Regions from separate parts of the Homo sapiens genome. Here regions 1, 3 and 4 are each linked to region 2. The links are contacts of gene promoters, found by promoter capture Hi-C in blood cells and fetal thymus (Javierre and others, 2016). All regions are on one chromosome and are shown on one strand. Each heading gives the region's core, a stretch centred on a gene start or on the middle of the fragment in contact. The rest is flanking DNA. Distances are from core to core; before and after follow the strand shown.

Region 1 (3,074 bases), core at 491-2,990, 1.8 Mb after region 2:
CATTTAAAATCTAAAATTATTATATTAATTTAATATAGTCTTTAATCATTTAGCATGTATAAATTAATATAAAAGTTCTCTAAGATAGGTCATTTTTAAAAGTCTTTATTTACTACCACCTTTAGTATCCACTTACTTGTTTATAAAAAATGTTGCTGAATTTCAGAAAAAAAAATTTATTTAGAATTTTTTACAGTTTGACCATACTGGGCATATTTTTTTCTACTGAAGATGAAAAGAGACTTCTATATGTATTCTGGAAAGCATCTTTACTTTTGTATTCAGTGTTATTGTGAAAATGAAAATACTGCTAAATAAAGATGAGTTTCTCACCATATGAAATACTTATCTTTACTTTCAAAATAATAAAATAGTGTAGGCAAAGTCATATTTGACATTTTCTTATTCTATGCCATCAAAATATAAAGAAAATGATAACAAAAATTATATAAAAATAAATTATACTGCTCAGAAATTAAGTCTCTTAAAAACATGAAATCATTTTCTTCCTACATTTCAGCGAGATTAGATAACTGACCATACAAGTTATAATTTTTATTTTCAAAAGTTTAAATTACTAAATGTGAAGTTGATCAGAAACACAACAAATTATAATTACTGAATCAGATAAGATCAGTTAATTTCTCTATTTTGTTTACAAACTGTATAAAATAATACATTCTGAAACATTTTAATTTGAAATATGTTAAGAATACAAATTCTTGGAAATATGATGCTTGAAATGTATTTTAAACTAATCAGATTAAACTATTCCCCAATTATTCCAGTTACATAAGATTTGGCTCTAGCACAGAGGAACCAAATAAGAGGTACAGGTTAATAATATAGAAAGGTGAGCAGAAATCATTTGTCAGTTTTCTATGACATGTCATCCTGGAGTGCCACTCAGAGGGGAAATACTGATATTTGTTATAGCTCAGTTATACCCTTGTTTTATATAAACATATTTTGTTACCTCTATTAATATTCCTGACAGATGAGTAAAGTGTACAGCTGTCTGTTTCTTATGGCTCTGGCTGCTGCACCTGGACAGCCTTTGTAATTAGCTAGGGAATGCCTCTTTTCCATCTGTCACTGCCATGATAACCAAATTTAGTGCTCAGTAGAAATTTGTTGTAAAAAAGAAATGATAAACAACTAAAAGAAAATGTACATATAAAACTATATTTTACTCTTCCACTTAAATCATTATACGAACACGCTGTTAAAAATAATTCTGCAAATCACATATTTAAGTAACCAAAGAATAAAATCTTGGTGTACATATACACACACTATCTATATATTATAGAAAAAGTTAAAGGCCTTTGTTTTACGTGAAGACCTGAGATTAGCATATCCTTAAAATTATTTCTAGGTCTACTATTCCATAATTCTAATATAGAATATTCTAACAAGGATAATGTCTAGTGGAGTCATATAGACTAAGAGGGACTCACATGTCTCAGAAATACTACCTCTTATTTGTATACACAAACCATAGCCTACCTCACGATGGGAAATCCTGGGGTAGTAGAAAAAATACAAGAGTACAAGCTTATTCCCAAATATTCTAGGAAGCAGTTAGCAGTAAGCTCCCCTCTTTATGCCCCTGAAAAATAGAGAACACATGTGTCACAACATTTAAGAACCTCACAGCAAAGAGAAAATATTTTAGCAATTTTTATTCTGGAAGTTGCAGTAAGACTGAAGTTGAGACTGAAAGTCTTTTTGCTGTGTTTTATGTCTAGATCAGAATTACATCATCACCTTTAATAGTGATTAGCAAAATTACTTATAATGAAATTTTATTTCTTAGAATCCTACTACCTAACTGGAGTCATTTCTCTTATTTGAATTTCATTCCATGGTTCATGTGAATTTTTTTGTTGTTTTGAGCATTTTTCTATAATTCCAAAGCTAAGAAGCTTATTAAATGGGGCCAAATATTCCCTGACACCAATAATATTAATTCCAAAATTCACTTTATTTCAAGTTTTTTTCTGATTTAAACATTCCCAAATAAATGTTCATATTGGCGGAAATTAAGGGCAGAATAGCTCTCTCAGGAGATCCTTGTCTACTGCTGAGAAAATAGTTTTCTTTAAGTCAATACAAGGGATTCATAGTCTTTTTATTTAAAGAAAACTTCTATCCATATAAAAATGTATATTATTATTATACTTTTCCTTAATATTAATTTTATAATGCTTAAAATAAAGTTAGTTAATTGCATTATTCACTCATTAATCTTTAGCAAATATCTTTTAATTTTTACACATCTTCCCCATTTTCCTTAAATTATTACATCAGCGAAATATTCTCCAACATGTTTTCATCTATTTGCATACACAAGCATTTTATATATTGTATATATTCTATATAAAACCAATTCTAAATAAAAGTATTTTATATATATTTCTTTTACTAATACATATTTTCTGAAAGAAAGTATACCATCTGTATCAGTTTTTGCAGTGTAAGAAAACCACTTCAAAGTCACATCTAAAGTTGGTTGGGCAGGTTTTACTGTCTTGCCTGGGCTCAAATATGTATCTTAGGTTAGATAGAGGTCTGTAGTTCTGCTAATATTTGCTCAGCTCTCTAATATGTTTGCGAGTGGGCTGACTAATATCTGCTCTAGTATGGCTTCATCAGAAGGGTTGGGATGACTTGCTGCTTTACCAAATGGTCTCTTATCATGGAGCCTAGGATAGTCTTATCCTAGCTTTCTCTTCATGGAAGTGCCAGGGTTCTGAGAAAGGGCAGAAGCACACAGGGAATCTTGAGGCCTAAGTCTGAAACCCACACATCACTTTCACTATATCTATTTGCCAAAGCAGTTCACAGGACAGCCAAGAGTCAAGAAATGAGAAATAGATTCCACTTCCTTAAAGGAAGAGCTTTAAAGTCACACTATCTTTGAAGCATTGGGTGAAAGATTAGAGCCATTTTGTAATTAATCTACCCTATTATCTAATATTATGTGCAATATAATTCAATTTCATTCACCATTGTATGTTTAGCACCTGGAAGACTACCTGGAACATATAAGAAATAAATATTTGTAAGAC
Region 2 (3,151 bases), core at 80-2,579:
GTAAACCGTGCAGTCACGAGCTACGAGTTCTATTCTGGGTCTTTGTCCCAGGGCCAGCAGGAACGCTAGACGCCTCCCAAAAGACCCAGTGGGAAATGCACTAAAAGAAACAACTCACCCCGTTCAAATTCGCAGGCTCCCCCTCCCCCCACCCCTTCTCCCACAATGACAAAACTGTAACTCCTCAGGCAGGCAAACAGGCCACTGGGGCAGAAAAAGACTTATCAAACATTTGTATTCAAGCAAACAAACACAAAACCTCTTAAAACGGCACGTTACAATCAAAGGTATTTATCGCCCCTCCCCTCCAGGGCAGGGGGGGAGCAGGAGAAGAGTGGGAGCGCACCCGGACACGGATTTGTGAGACCCCATGAGTCTGCTGCGTGGCTTTTAACAGGTCACTCTTCCGGTCACAAGGCGATCAGTGCCGCTGGGTCTCTCCCCTGCCCGCCCTCTCCACCTGCCCCCAGAGCTTGGCCCACCTGCGGGTGGAGAAGGGCCTTCGCACCGTCGGTCTCCCCGCATTCCAAGTAAGTAGCAGCTTCCAAAGTTCTGCGCCCTAATCGCCCTCTTCTTGCCACTTTCTGCTGAGTTCAGAGTCTGGGCGCTCTCCTCCGACTGCCAGGCATGAGGACTTTCAGAGGGCGAGGGAGAAACCGGTCGCTTCTTTCCGAAAGGCCGAAGTCGAGAGAAATAATTGACTCCGACAGGTTTGCTTCGCCCAGTCTCTGATAGTGAGGGGCACAGCCGGGCTAGCAAAGTGGGCAGGCGTGGGAGCGGTTGCCGCGGGGGCAGAGGGCGGGTCAGTAGGGCCCCACGACCACCGCCTCCACCTCCTTAGACGGCCTCCGGTCCTTCACGAGGAAGTTGATCATGCCCTCGGACTTGATGAGCAGATTGCAGCCGAGGAAGAAGATGCCGAAGACCACGGTGAGTGAGAGCACGCACATGACCGCGATCTGCACCACGCGCATTATGTACAGGCTACGCTCGTCCGGGCCTCCCTCCGCGAAGCCGTCGTCGGTCACCACGGACGCCTGGGTGCAGCAGCGCACGGCTCGCTCCAGCGCCTCGCTGCTGTTGGCCAGGAACAGGCCCGCCACGTCCGTCTGGTTGCCTAGGGCCGGATTCATCGCAGGAACGGGCGGGCGCCGCGAGCGGCGCGGGTCCGAGGGGTGGGAAGGCGGCGGCGCTGGAGGAACAGGTGCCGGGCTGAGCGCTCACTCGCAGACTAGCGCGTGCGAGGGCTCCTCGCTCTGCTTTCGAAAGTCCCTGGGCCGTGGGAGTTTCCCAGGAGCCTCTCCGACGCGCGCAGCAGCTAGGCTCTTCTAAAGCCGTCCGCTCCAGCCCTGGTGGTGCTCGTTCCCGGCGCTCGCTCGAGGGGGGGCTGTTGGAACTTGGCGGGGCTGGACCAGCCCGGCCGTGGGAGGTGCGGGCCGCGGCGGCTGCAGCGGCGGGGTGGCTGCGCTGAGCAAACAGCGGCCCCTTCCGGCCGCACCGCCGCGCTGCGCGCTGCTCTTGGGAGGTGGAGGAAGCAAAGGGGCGAACCTGGTCTTGCTTTTTATTGCTTGCTTCTTTTGCAAACTCCAAAGGCCAGGCAGAGGTCACTGTACTCTTCTAGCTTGATGGATGATTAAAGAGTTTGTCGGGGGAGGGTGCGGTCAGCTGAAAGTTTCAGAGGAACTGGGACACACGAGCTCTGCGTGTCCTTTGCCTGCTGCCCCCCTGACCTCTGGGCGAATGGAAAGTGGCGATGAATCGCAGGTGCCAGATGGTGCCGGCTGAGGCCACCCGCCCACTGCCTGTGCTTGACTCCGACTCGCCTGCGTTGGATTTCTAGTGGAGTGGAGGTGATCTGAGAATGTTTCTTACAAAGCAATGAATTTGGAAAGACAGAAAGGCATGGAAGAAGGAAGGAAGAAAGGAAGGAAGGAAAGAAAAAAGGAAGGGAGGGAGAAAGAAGAGCTCTACACCCAGCTTCCTTTACAAAAGCGATTGGGAGACAGAGCAAGGCAGGTTTTACCGTGAGGTTTGAGGCCAAGGAAAGAGGGTTAGAGGAAGGAGGAGTTCTTCTGTGGCCCTTGGGTGGAGGTAGTTGCCGGGAGCAGGGTCACCTCTCTGGTAAAGGAGGTGAACAGAGTGACCACTTGCTTGTAATTTTAATTGCAGATAAGTTTTTGGATGTGCTTCCAGCATTTTGTCCGTTGGCAGTAAATCAGTTGTTGAAGGGAATTGCTCATCAACATCCATCACCTAGAACGCTGGCCAAATACTGGGAGCCCTCCCCATTTTCCATAAGCTGATGTATTTCACCCTTAGTCATTTAAACTAAACACAGATGTTTTTATAGGCCTGATTGACGCTTCAGCCATTGTGATTTTGCTCTAGGTTCCAACGAAATTCTATAAACCTGTCAGATTAAGTTTCTTAACTCTGAAAGAATATTGCATGTTCCCGCTCCCCCTTTTCTGTTTTCTTTCCCCTCCCTCCTTTTCCCCATTACTCCCTGCCTTCCTCCCTCTTTCTTTCAGCTGTAACAGCTGGAAACCAGTAACTTGAGCTTCCAATAGAATACATTTACTTTCTATTAAATGTTCTCACCACAAAGAACTGATAAAAATTTGAGATAATGGGTACGCTAATTACTCTGATTTGATCATTCCACATGTATATGTGTATCAAAATATCACTTTGTACCTCATAAATATGTACAGTTGTCAATTAAAAATAAAATAAAACTGAAAAATAGTAGCTGTCTTGCCATTTTCAACTCTACTCTTAATTTCATTCTGTTTGCTTGGTAAATCCTCTTATTTCTGTTTCTTAAAACATCATTTATTCCATCTTCAGAGTGTTCCTTAAATGTTTTTGCACTGCTTCATGACTATCATAAAATAGAATGAAATGCCTTCTGGTTGAGTTTTCAATTTTTTGATATTTATGGTATATCAGCTGCAATAAGTTTGATTTTTTAAAATAGCTATTATTATTTTGAGGGGGATGTTTAACAGCTGAAAATTCAGGCTTGGGCTTCTACCACAATTCACTGGCTTATTGTTCTAGTTTCCCATAATTTAATTAGAATTGAAAAATACCTCACTCTCGGCAATTTCTTCTTTGAAGAAATTTATTAATAATTGATAAGTAAGAA
Region 3 (3,232 bases), core at 726-3,225, 1.4 Mb before region 2:
CCAGCTACTCAGGAGGTTGAGGCAGGAGAATTGCTTGAACCCAGGAGGCAGAGGTTGCAGTGAGCCAAGACCACGCCACTGCACTCTAGCCTGGGCAACAGAGCGAGACTCGATCTCAAAAAAAAAAAAAAAAAAGAAAAGAAAAGAAAAGAAAAGAAAAGAAAGAGCCCAGAGTTTGCTCTCTCTGCCACATGAAGACACAGCAGGAAGACAACCACCTGCAGATTAGGAAGAGGGTCTGCTATGGTCTGAATGTTTGTGTCCCCTCAAAATTCACAGACTGAAATCCTAACCCCCACGGTGATGGTATTAGGAGGTGGGGCCTTTAGGAGGTGCTTAGGGCATGAGGGCAGAGCCTCATGAAAGTGATTAGTGCCTTAATGAAAGAAGCCCTGGATTGACCCCTTGCCCCTTCTACCATTTGAGGACACAGTGAGAAGAAGGCACCATCCATGAACCAGAACGTTGGCCTTTGGCAGACACCAAATCTACCAACACCTTGATCTCGGACTTCCCAGCCTCTAGAACTGTGAGAAATAAATTCCTGTTGTTTAAGCCACCTGGTCTACAGTATTTTGTTGTGGCATCCTGAGCTGACTAATACAGTCATGCATCATGATAACAAGAAAAGAGCAAATTACACAAACAGGTGCACTGAGTAGAGAATGCTGAAGTGCAAATTCAAGAAGCCTCATTTTCTTTTTGAGGCAATTGTGAGCACTCTTACCTTCTTTTTTTTTTCTGATTACATTTCTACTCTTCACTTTATTCACTATTTAGTTGCTTCTAAAATAGTTTGAGGATTATATTAACACAGTCTTGAAAAAATAAAATTCACACATAGTCAAATAACACTGTAGGACATGTTTGTTAAGACAAAAGAAACACAACATTGAAAATACTTGGACATTTTTCATGCTTATAAGACACTAGATTTATGTTTACATTTTTTCATCAATATTAATAGTATAATTCACTATGTATAGATGAAATTTTACACAAGATCATCATTAATTTTTACAGATATGATCTCATAATTTTAGAAAATTTTGTTTCCATTGTTATTGAAAAGAATTTTATGTATTTATTTATTTTTCTTATACTTTAAGTTCTAGGGTACATGTGCACAACGTGCAGGTTTGTTACATATGTATACATGTGCCATGTTGGTGTGCTGCACCCATTAACTTGTCATTTACATTAGGTATATCTCCTAATGCTATCCCTCCCCACTTGACAGGCCCCAGTGTGTGATGTTCCCCTTCCTGTGTCCAAGTGTTCTCATTGTTCAATTCCCACCTATGAGTGAGAACATGCAGTGTTTGGTTTTCTGTCCCTGCAATAGTTTGCTGAGAATGATGGTTTCCAGCTGCCTCCATGTCCCTACAAAGGACGTGAACTCATCCTTTTTTATGGCTGCATAGTATTCCATGGTGTATATGTGCCACATTTTCTTAATCCAGTTGGAACCAACCCAAATGTCCATCAATGATAGACTGGATTAAGAAAATGTGGCACTCTCACCTTCTAAAATTGATACTGATGTCAAGCAAGGTTGGGGAAAGATGATTCATTCACTGCACAGCCTCAGCCCTGGGCAGAAAACACAGCAGTAACAGGGAAGTGGATACAAGCAGTCCAGGAGAAAGGGTACTTGGGGTAGACAGGCGGTATTGCCACGGGACTAGCAAGATATTTTACAGATGAAGAAATAACAATTTACAGAGAAACTTCCTTCCAGAAAGAAAAAGAGGAACCAAGAGAAGAATGACCATCATCCTGATGTGCCCAGAACTCTTTCAGTTTTAGCACCTAATATTGTACATCCTGGGAAACCCCTCAGTCCCCAGGACTGTTGGTCACCCCACAAAGGACACTTCACAAATTATTAAATCTGAACAAGTAACAGGTACAAGATATTATGATGATGACTTAATGACCGAATAAGACTCTGAGGGTAAATCAAGATTTAAATTGCAGTTACGTGTTATACAATGCATGTAGTTCAGGCTGGTAGGAGGACCTTCCAGAAACTGGAAACATGGGACTCTGAGGATGAGAGAGCACACGCAGGTGAGCGGAGACTTCTTCTCCTCCTAATATCCCACTGTTGACGGGTGCTGTGTTATCTGTACTGTGGCCCCTCTGCAGCACAACCTGAGGGAGGAAGGCAGGTCAGACACAGCCAGGGGCTTGCTCAAAGGCCTGGGACCAGGCAGAGGAGGATCCACAGATGGAGCTCAGGTCTCCTCATCCTTAATCCTAGGCTTTCTCCCCTGCCCATCAGCCCCTCCCGGCCGCCATTAATCCTCGGATTTCAGAGTCCTGATGGCCTCTAAGGAGTGAGAGGACAGTCAGCAGGGTCTCTGCTAGACCCTGAAGAGAGACCTGGAGTTAATGGTAGAGAACTAGGCAACAGGAAAAAGAGGAGGTTTTAAAAATTATCCATATTTTTGAAAACTGATATTTTCCTCCATTACTAGAAAACTGCCCTTTCTGTTGGCATTAGGCTCTCTAAAAGGGAAGCACCGTGCTGACAGTCTTGCCAAGCCAAGGGTGAAAGCCTCACAGCCCGTGGCTTGCTTGAACGAAGGCTCCATCAGGGGACAGCAAACTCCCTCATTTCATATTCAGGCAAGAGCGGAGAGCAACAGAGCCTTGATGATTCGAGTGTCTGGATCCTTCTATAGTGTGGGGAAAGGATGTGGCAAATAGAGAGAGAGAAAAAAGGAATAGGAGGCACATGACCAAGTCTGATTTTTTCAGACCTTCTGTTAAAACTGCCCCACAGATGGCTTCAAAATATAGAACCAGAGACTGTGGAGAGCTGGAAGGAATCCCCTTCCCCCCGTCCATTATCTTTGCTCCACGGATAAGAAATTGGCCTGAGAAGGGAAGGGACTGACCCAGGCCACACAGCCAGGAAGGGGCAACAGCCATGTCTCCTGACTCTCAGTGTAACATTTTTTCCCCTAAAATACATTGGACCAAAATCTACTTAGCAGCCCATGGAAATGAACAAGTAAATTGTTAACTTGCTACTAATTTTAGCTATCAACTATTGATGGTGGCACATCTAACTCAGTCGGTCATGATTTTAAGAAAGCCACAATTAATTACAAATTCCTTAAAAAACACAAATAGAGACTATGGTTTAACCATATATTACCGAGACATTTTAATACAACTTTATTTTTAATAATAGGGAATTCAAAAAAATCTAAATGCTTTT
Region 4 (3,206 bases), core at 631-3,130, 1.3 Mb before region 2:
AATGCCTTTGGGGTTCTGAATTCAGTCATGCTTAAGCTAATATGTAACTACTTGAAGCTCTGGCTTATGGCACTGGCCATAAAATAATCTAGACACAGTTTTTTTGTTTGTTTGTTTTTTTAATCTCAACAGCAGTGCCTCCTTTACAACTGTAGGACTAAACTGTGATCCACTAAACCAATGCTGGGGCCTCGGGAGCCAGGCAGGGAAAGGTTTAGAACAGAACAGACAGAGCAACTCTGCCTACTTGTACCAGAGAATTTTTCCATCAGAAAACAATGAACTTTCAAGAAAAATTTATATTGAAGAAAAGAATTCACGGTTTTTAAGTTTTAAAATCATTTGTCTAATTCTATTTTGCGCCTTCTGTTTTATTTCATTAGAACAGAATCAAAGTGTTCATAATAGCAATTTTTTAAAAGTACAGGTTGCACAAAGGTTGTATGATTCAAACAAAAGAATACTGCAATGAGGCGTTCCAAAAGGAAACAGTGAGCCTTAAGAGTGATGTTTCCCAGATTTACGCCAGTCACCTGTATTCATCCACCAAAAAAAAAGTTTAATGAAGTAAGGAACATACATATTTGAACTATTTACATATATTATTTGACTCAAACATGTTTTTTAAAATGGCTTAGGGGATTACACAACGTATCAGAATAGGGCACTTTCTACAGTCTCCTAATAACCAAATGTTAACTATGAAACAGGGGAATTACTGCTGAGATGTGCAGTATTCTTCTGAGTCTCCCCGCCCCAACCCCATTTCCAAGTTCTAAAAATTTACCTAGGGTTCTGTTAACTACTGCTACAAAAACAAACAAAAAACAAACCTGTAGTCCCAGCTACTCGGGAAGGGGAAACGGAGGTGGAGGCTGAGGTGGGAGGAATTCTAGTCGCACCTGGGCAACATAGTGAGACCCAGACTTTCGAGAATACATACATATATTTCTCAGTTTGTTTTAGTGTTACTCAAATTTCCTAAATAATTTCGTATATATCTTATCCATGTTTTTCTCATTCTATAGTCACTGAGAGACCAGCGCTTTATGACTGCAACATGTAAAATACTTGTTGTTCTGGAGTGTTTTGAGACTGGAGATTTCCTTTTCATACTCTAAAACCGAACATCTCCTAGCACCCGCGCAATCTTTGCAATCCGGGGATGAAGAGCAACACCTTTACAATTGTAATAAATCTTAAAGCTACCCTATCAGGGATTGAATGCATGAGTAATATAAATAATGGGGAAGTAAGTTCTTCCTATTCAATGCGGTTGTCTAGGTGTCAAGTGTCTAGTGTTGGGCTTCTCTAGACAGCAGGGTCTCCACTGCTGCATCATCTTCAGAAAACGATGGGGCAAAGACGGAGGTAACCAGCTGTCGAACGAGCAGGAAGTTTTTAATCACCAACTCCACAACTACTTAATCAGTCCAGTCTCCAGCGAGCCCTAGGCTCTTCCCAAATCCTACGCTTGGCAAGGAGAACGGCCCTTTGAGGGTCCCCAAACTCAGGCGGCAGGAAGCACTCCCCAGACCGCTAGCGACGCGCCGAGGTTGCCCCAGAAAAATCCCAACGTCGAAGGAGCGGGCGGCACCGCCCCTCCCCTCCCTTCGCTTTGCTTCCTAGTCCCCGGAGTCGCTACCGCCCACTTTCTAGCCGGACAAACAGCAGTCCAGGGCCAGGCACACAGCAGTCCAGGACCGGGCACAGCACTCACCCACGTCTTGCTCGAAGGGGTTGGCGGTGAACAAAGGCATCTCGCCGGCGCCCGAGCCCTAGTCGCTGCTGTCTAGCTGACACTCAGCAACTGCTACCCGCCGGGTGACCCGCGGCCGCGGCTCCCTAGACCGCTCCGCTTCGGCCTCCGTCCCTGCACTTCCGCCACCGCACCTGCCCGGCTCTTGCCTGACAGGCCGGCTCGGAGTCCACCCTTCGATCCCGCGCTCCTGTCCCAACTTTTCTCCCGGGGCGAGATCCCTCCGACCATGGGCGTCCTCCCAAGGCCTTTGTCGCTGCCCCTGTCCCAGACTTTTGTAGGGGTCAGGCGGCCGCTACGGCCACCTTTCCAGCGCTAGGACCCCGGCTAGCCACGAAGCCGGGGACCTTCGGAGCCGGAAGTAGTCCCGCCTGGAACTGGACGACCCCGGAAGCTGCAGTGCCAGCGGCGGCGCGGCAGGGGGCGCGGTTACCCGTGGTTTTTCGCGTTGGACGACGGGCTCTGAGGGCCAAGTTCTTGTCACGAATTTAGTTTGTTTCAGAGCGGCAGGACTCGTAGCTAGAGAACGAGGACCCACGACGCGTACGCGTTACAGTCCTGTTTCCCTAGAAACGGAGCTGCCGGCGCGGAGGTGGCTTTGAGATTCTGCGAAAGACCTGACTGCTCTTCAACAATTATTGTGTTGCACCCTCCCAGGCGCCCAGTCCAAACCCCGTCAGAATAACCACCCGGGACAGCGGTGGTCGAAGTAACTACGCCTAACTTTTCGCTTTCCATCGTGTCCCCTCCATAAAAACACTGCTGGGCCCCCGGAATCCAAAGGCGAAGGAGGCACACTCCCTGCCTTAGACTTGTTGAGAGTTTTATAGGGGCAGTGCATAACGTACATGATGGTGTATGACGATTCGGATGGTAGTACGAGTCATAAACTCAAATTCCAACAGCATCCAGCCAGGTATTTAAATGAATGCAAAAGCCCAAGCACCCTTCCCACCCACATATTCTCTGTTCCTCTTAGAAAACTGTAGTAATGATTATGTTGCCTGTCTCTCCTCCTCATTAGATTATAAACTCCCTGATAAGTTTTGGTCACTACTATATCCCCAGCGTCTAAAACAGTGTCCCAAGTAATAGACGCTCAATGCTTTTCGAATGAAGCTGTAACTTTCTAACTGAACAGTGCGTATCTAAAGATGTCAACTACTGGTAAATTGCAGCCATTTATTGAAATGTGGGTCCTACTAGAGTTTGCAATTTTTCAATGATGTTTAAATGTTGAGAATTACTCCAACATTTTAAATAATAGATTAATCAAAACCATTTTACAAACTCTAGTATAAAGACCTGATGCTATAGAGAGCTCATACACATTCAGAAAGGTGGTTGCATTTTATAAAGTTCGGGGCACAAATGAGAAGGAATCGTGCAGAAGGGGCTGTTTTTCATAGAACGTTGAACCTAGGGATGTTCAAGATAAATTGGGAGG

The links. Contacts are between HindIII fragments. The CHiCAGO score rates a contact against its expected background, and 5 or more counts as called.
Region 1: a fragment that was not itself captured here is called in contact with the fragment with the promoter of RPRM in region 2 in 1 of 17 cell types (M2 macrophages); the score reaches 5.5 in M2 macrophages.
Region 3: a contact is called between a fragment that was not itself captured here and the fragment with the promoter of RPRM in region 2, in 6 of 17 cell types (total CD4 T cells, naive CD8 T cells, non-activated CD4 T cells and 3 more). The highest score is 10.8, in total CD4 T cells.
Region 4: a contact is called between the fragment with the promoter of STAM2 here and the fragment with the promoter of RPRM in region 2, in 1 of 17 cell types (naive CD8 T cells). The highest score is 9.1, in naive CD8 T cells.

The regions. Positions count from the first base shown.
Region 1 is chr2:155,305,953-155,309,026 of GRCh38, forward strand. No RefSeq gene overlaps it. Among named protein-coding and RNA genes, the nearest start is that of KCNJ3, 610 kb to the left of the region's middle. The HindIII fragment of the contact is 371 bases long and covers 1,556-1,926 here.
Region 2 is chr2:153,477,433-153,480,583 of GRCh38, forward strand. It overlaps RPRM (reprimo, TP53 dependent G2 arrest mediator homolog), which reads right to left and starts at 1,330. Exons shown (of 1, transcript NM_019845.3): 1 at 1-1,330. The coding sequence starts at 1,133. The coding sequence ends at 804. It also overlaps a transcript of GALNT13 not described here. RefSeq lists enhancers at 1-504, 505-1,008 and a silencer at 1,365-1,564. The HindIII fragment of the contact is 6,762 bases long and covers 1-3,151 here.
Region 3 is chr2:152,029,377-152,032,608 of GRCh38, forward strand. The region is part of intron 2 of CACNB4 (calcium voltage-gated channel auxiliary subunit beta 4); the gene reads right to left. Among named protein-coding and RNA genes, the nearest start is that of CACNB4, 68 kb to the right of the region's middle. The HindIII fragment of the contact is 4,901 bases long and covers 1-3,232 here.
Region 4 is chr2:152,173,883-152,177,088 of GRCh38, forward strand. STAM2 (signal transducing adaptor molecule 2) reads right to left here and starts at 1,881. Exons shown (of 14, transcript NM_005843.6): 1 at 1,721-1,881. The coding sequence starts at 1,760. LOC105373689 (a long non-coding RNA gene) reads left to right here and starts at 1,651. Exons shown (of 3, transcript XR_923477.3): 1 at 1,651-2,675. RefSeq lists enhancers at 1,419-1,468, 1,519-1,658, 1,819-2,342, 1,819-2,238. The HindIII fragment of the contact is 5,938 bases long and covers 1-3,206 here.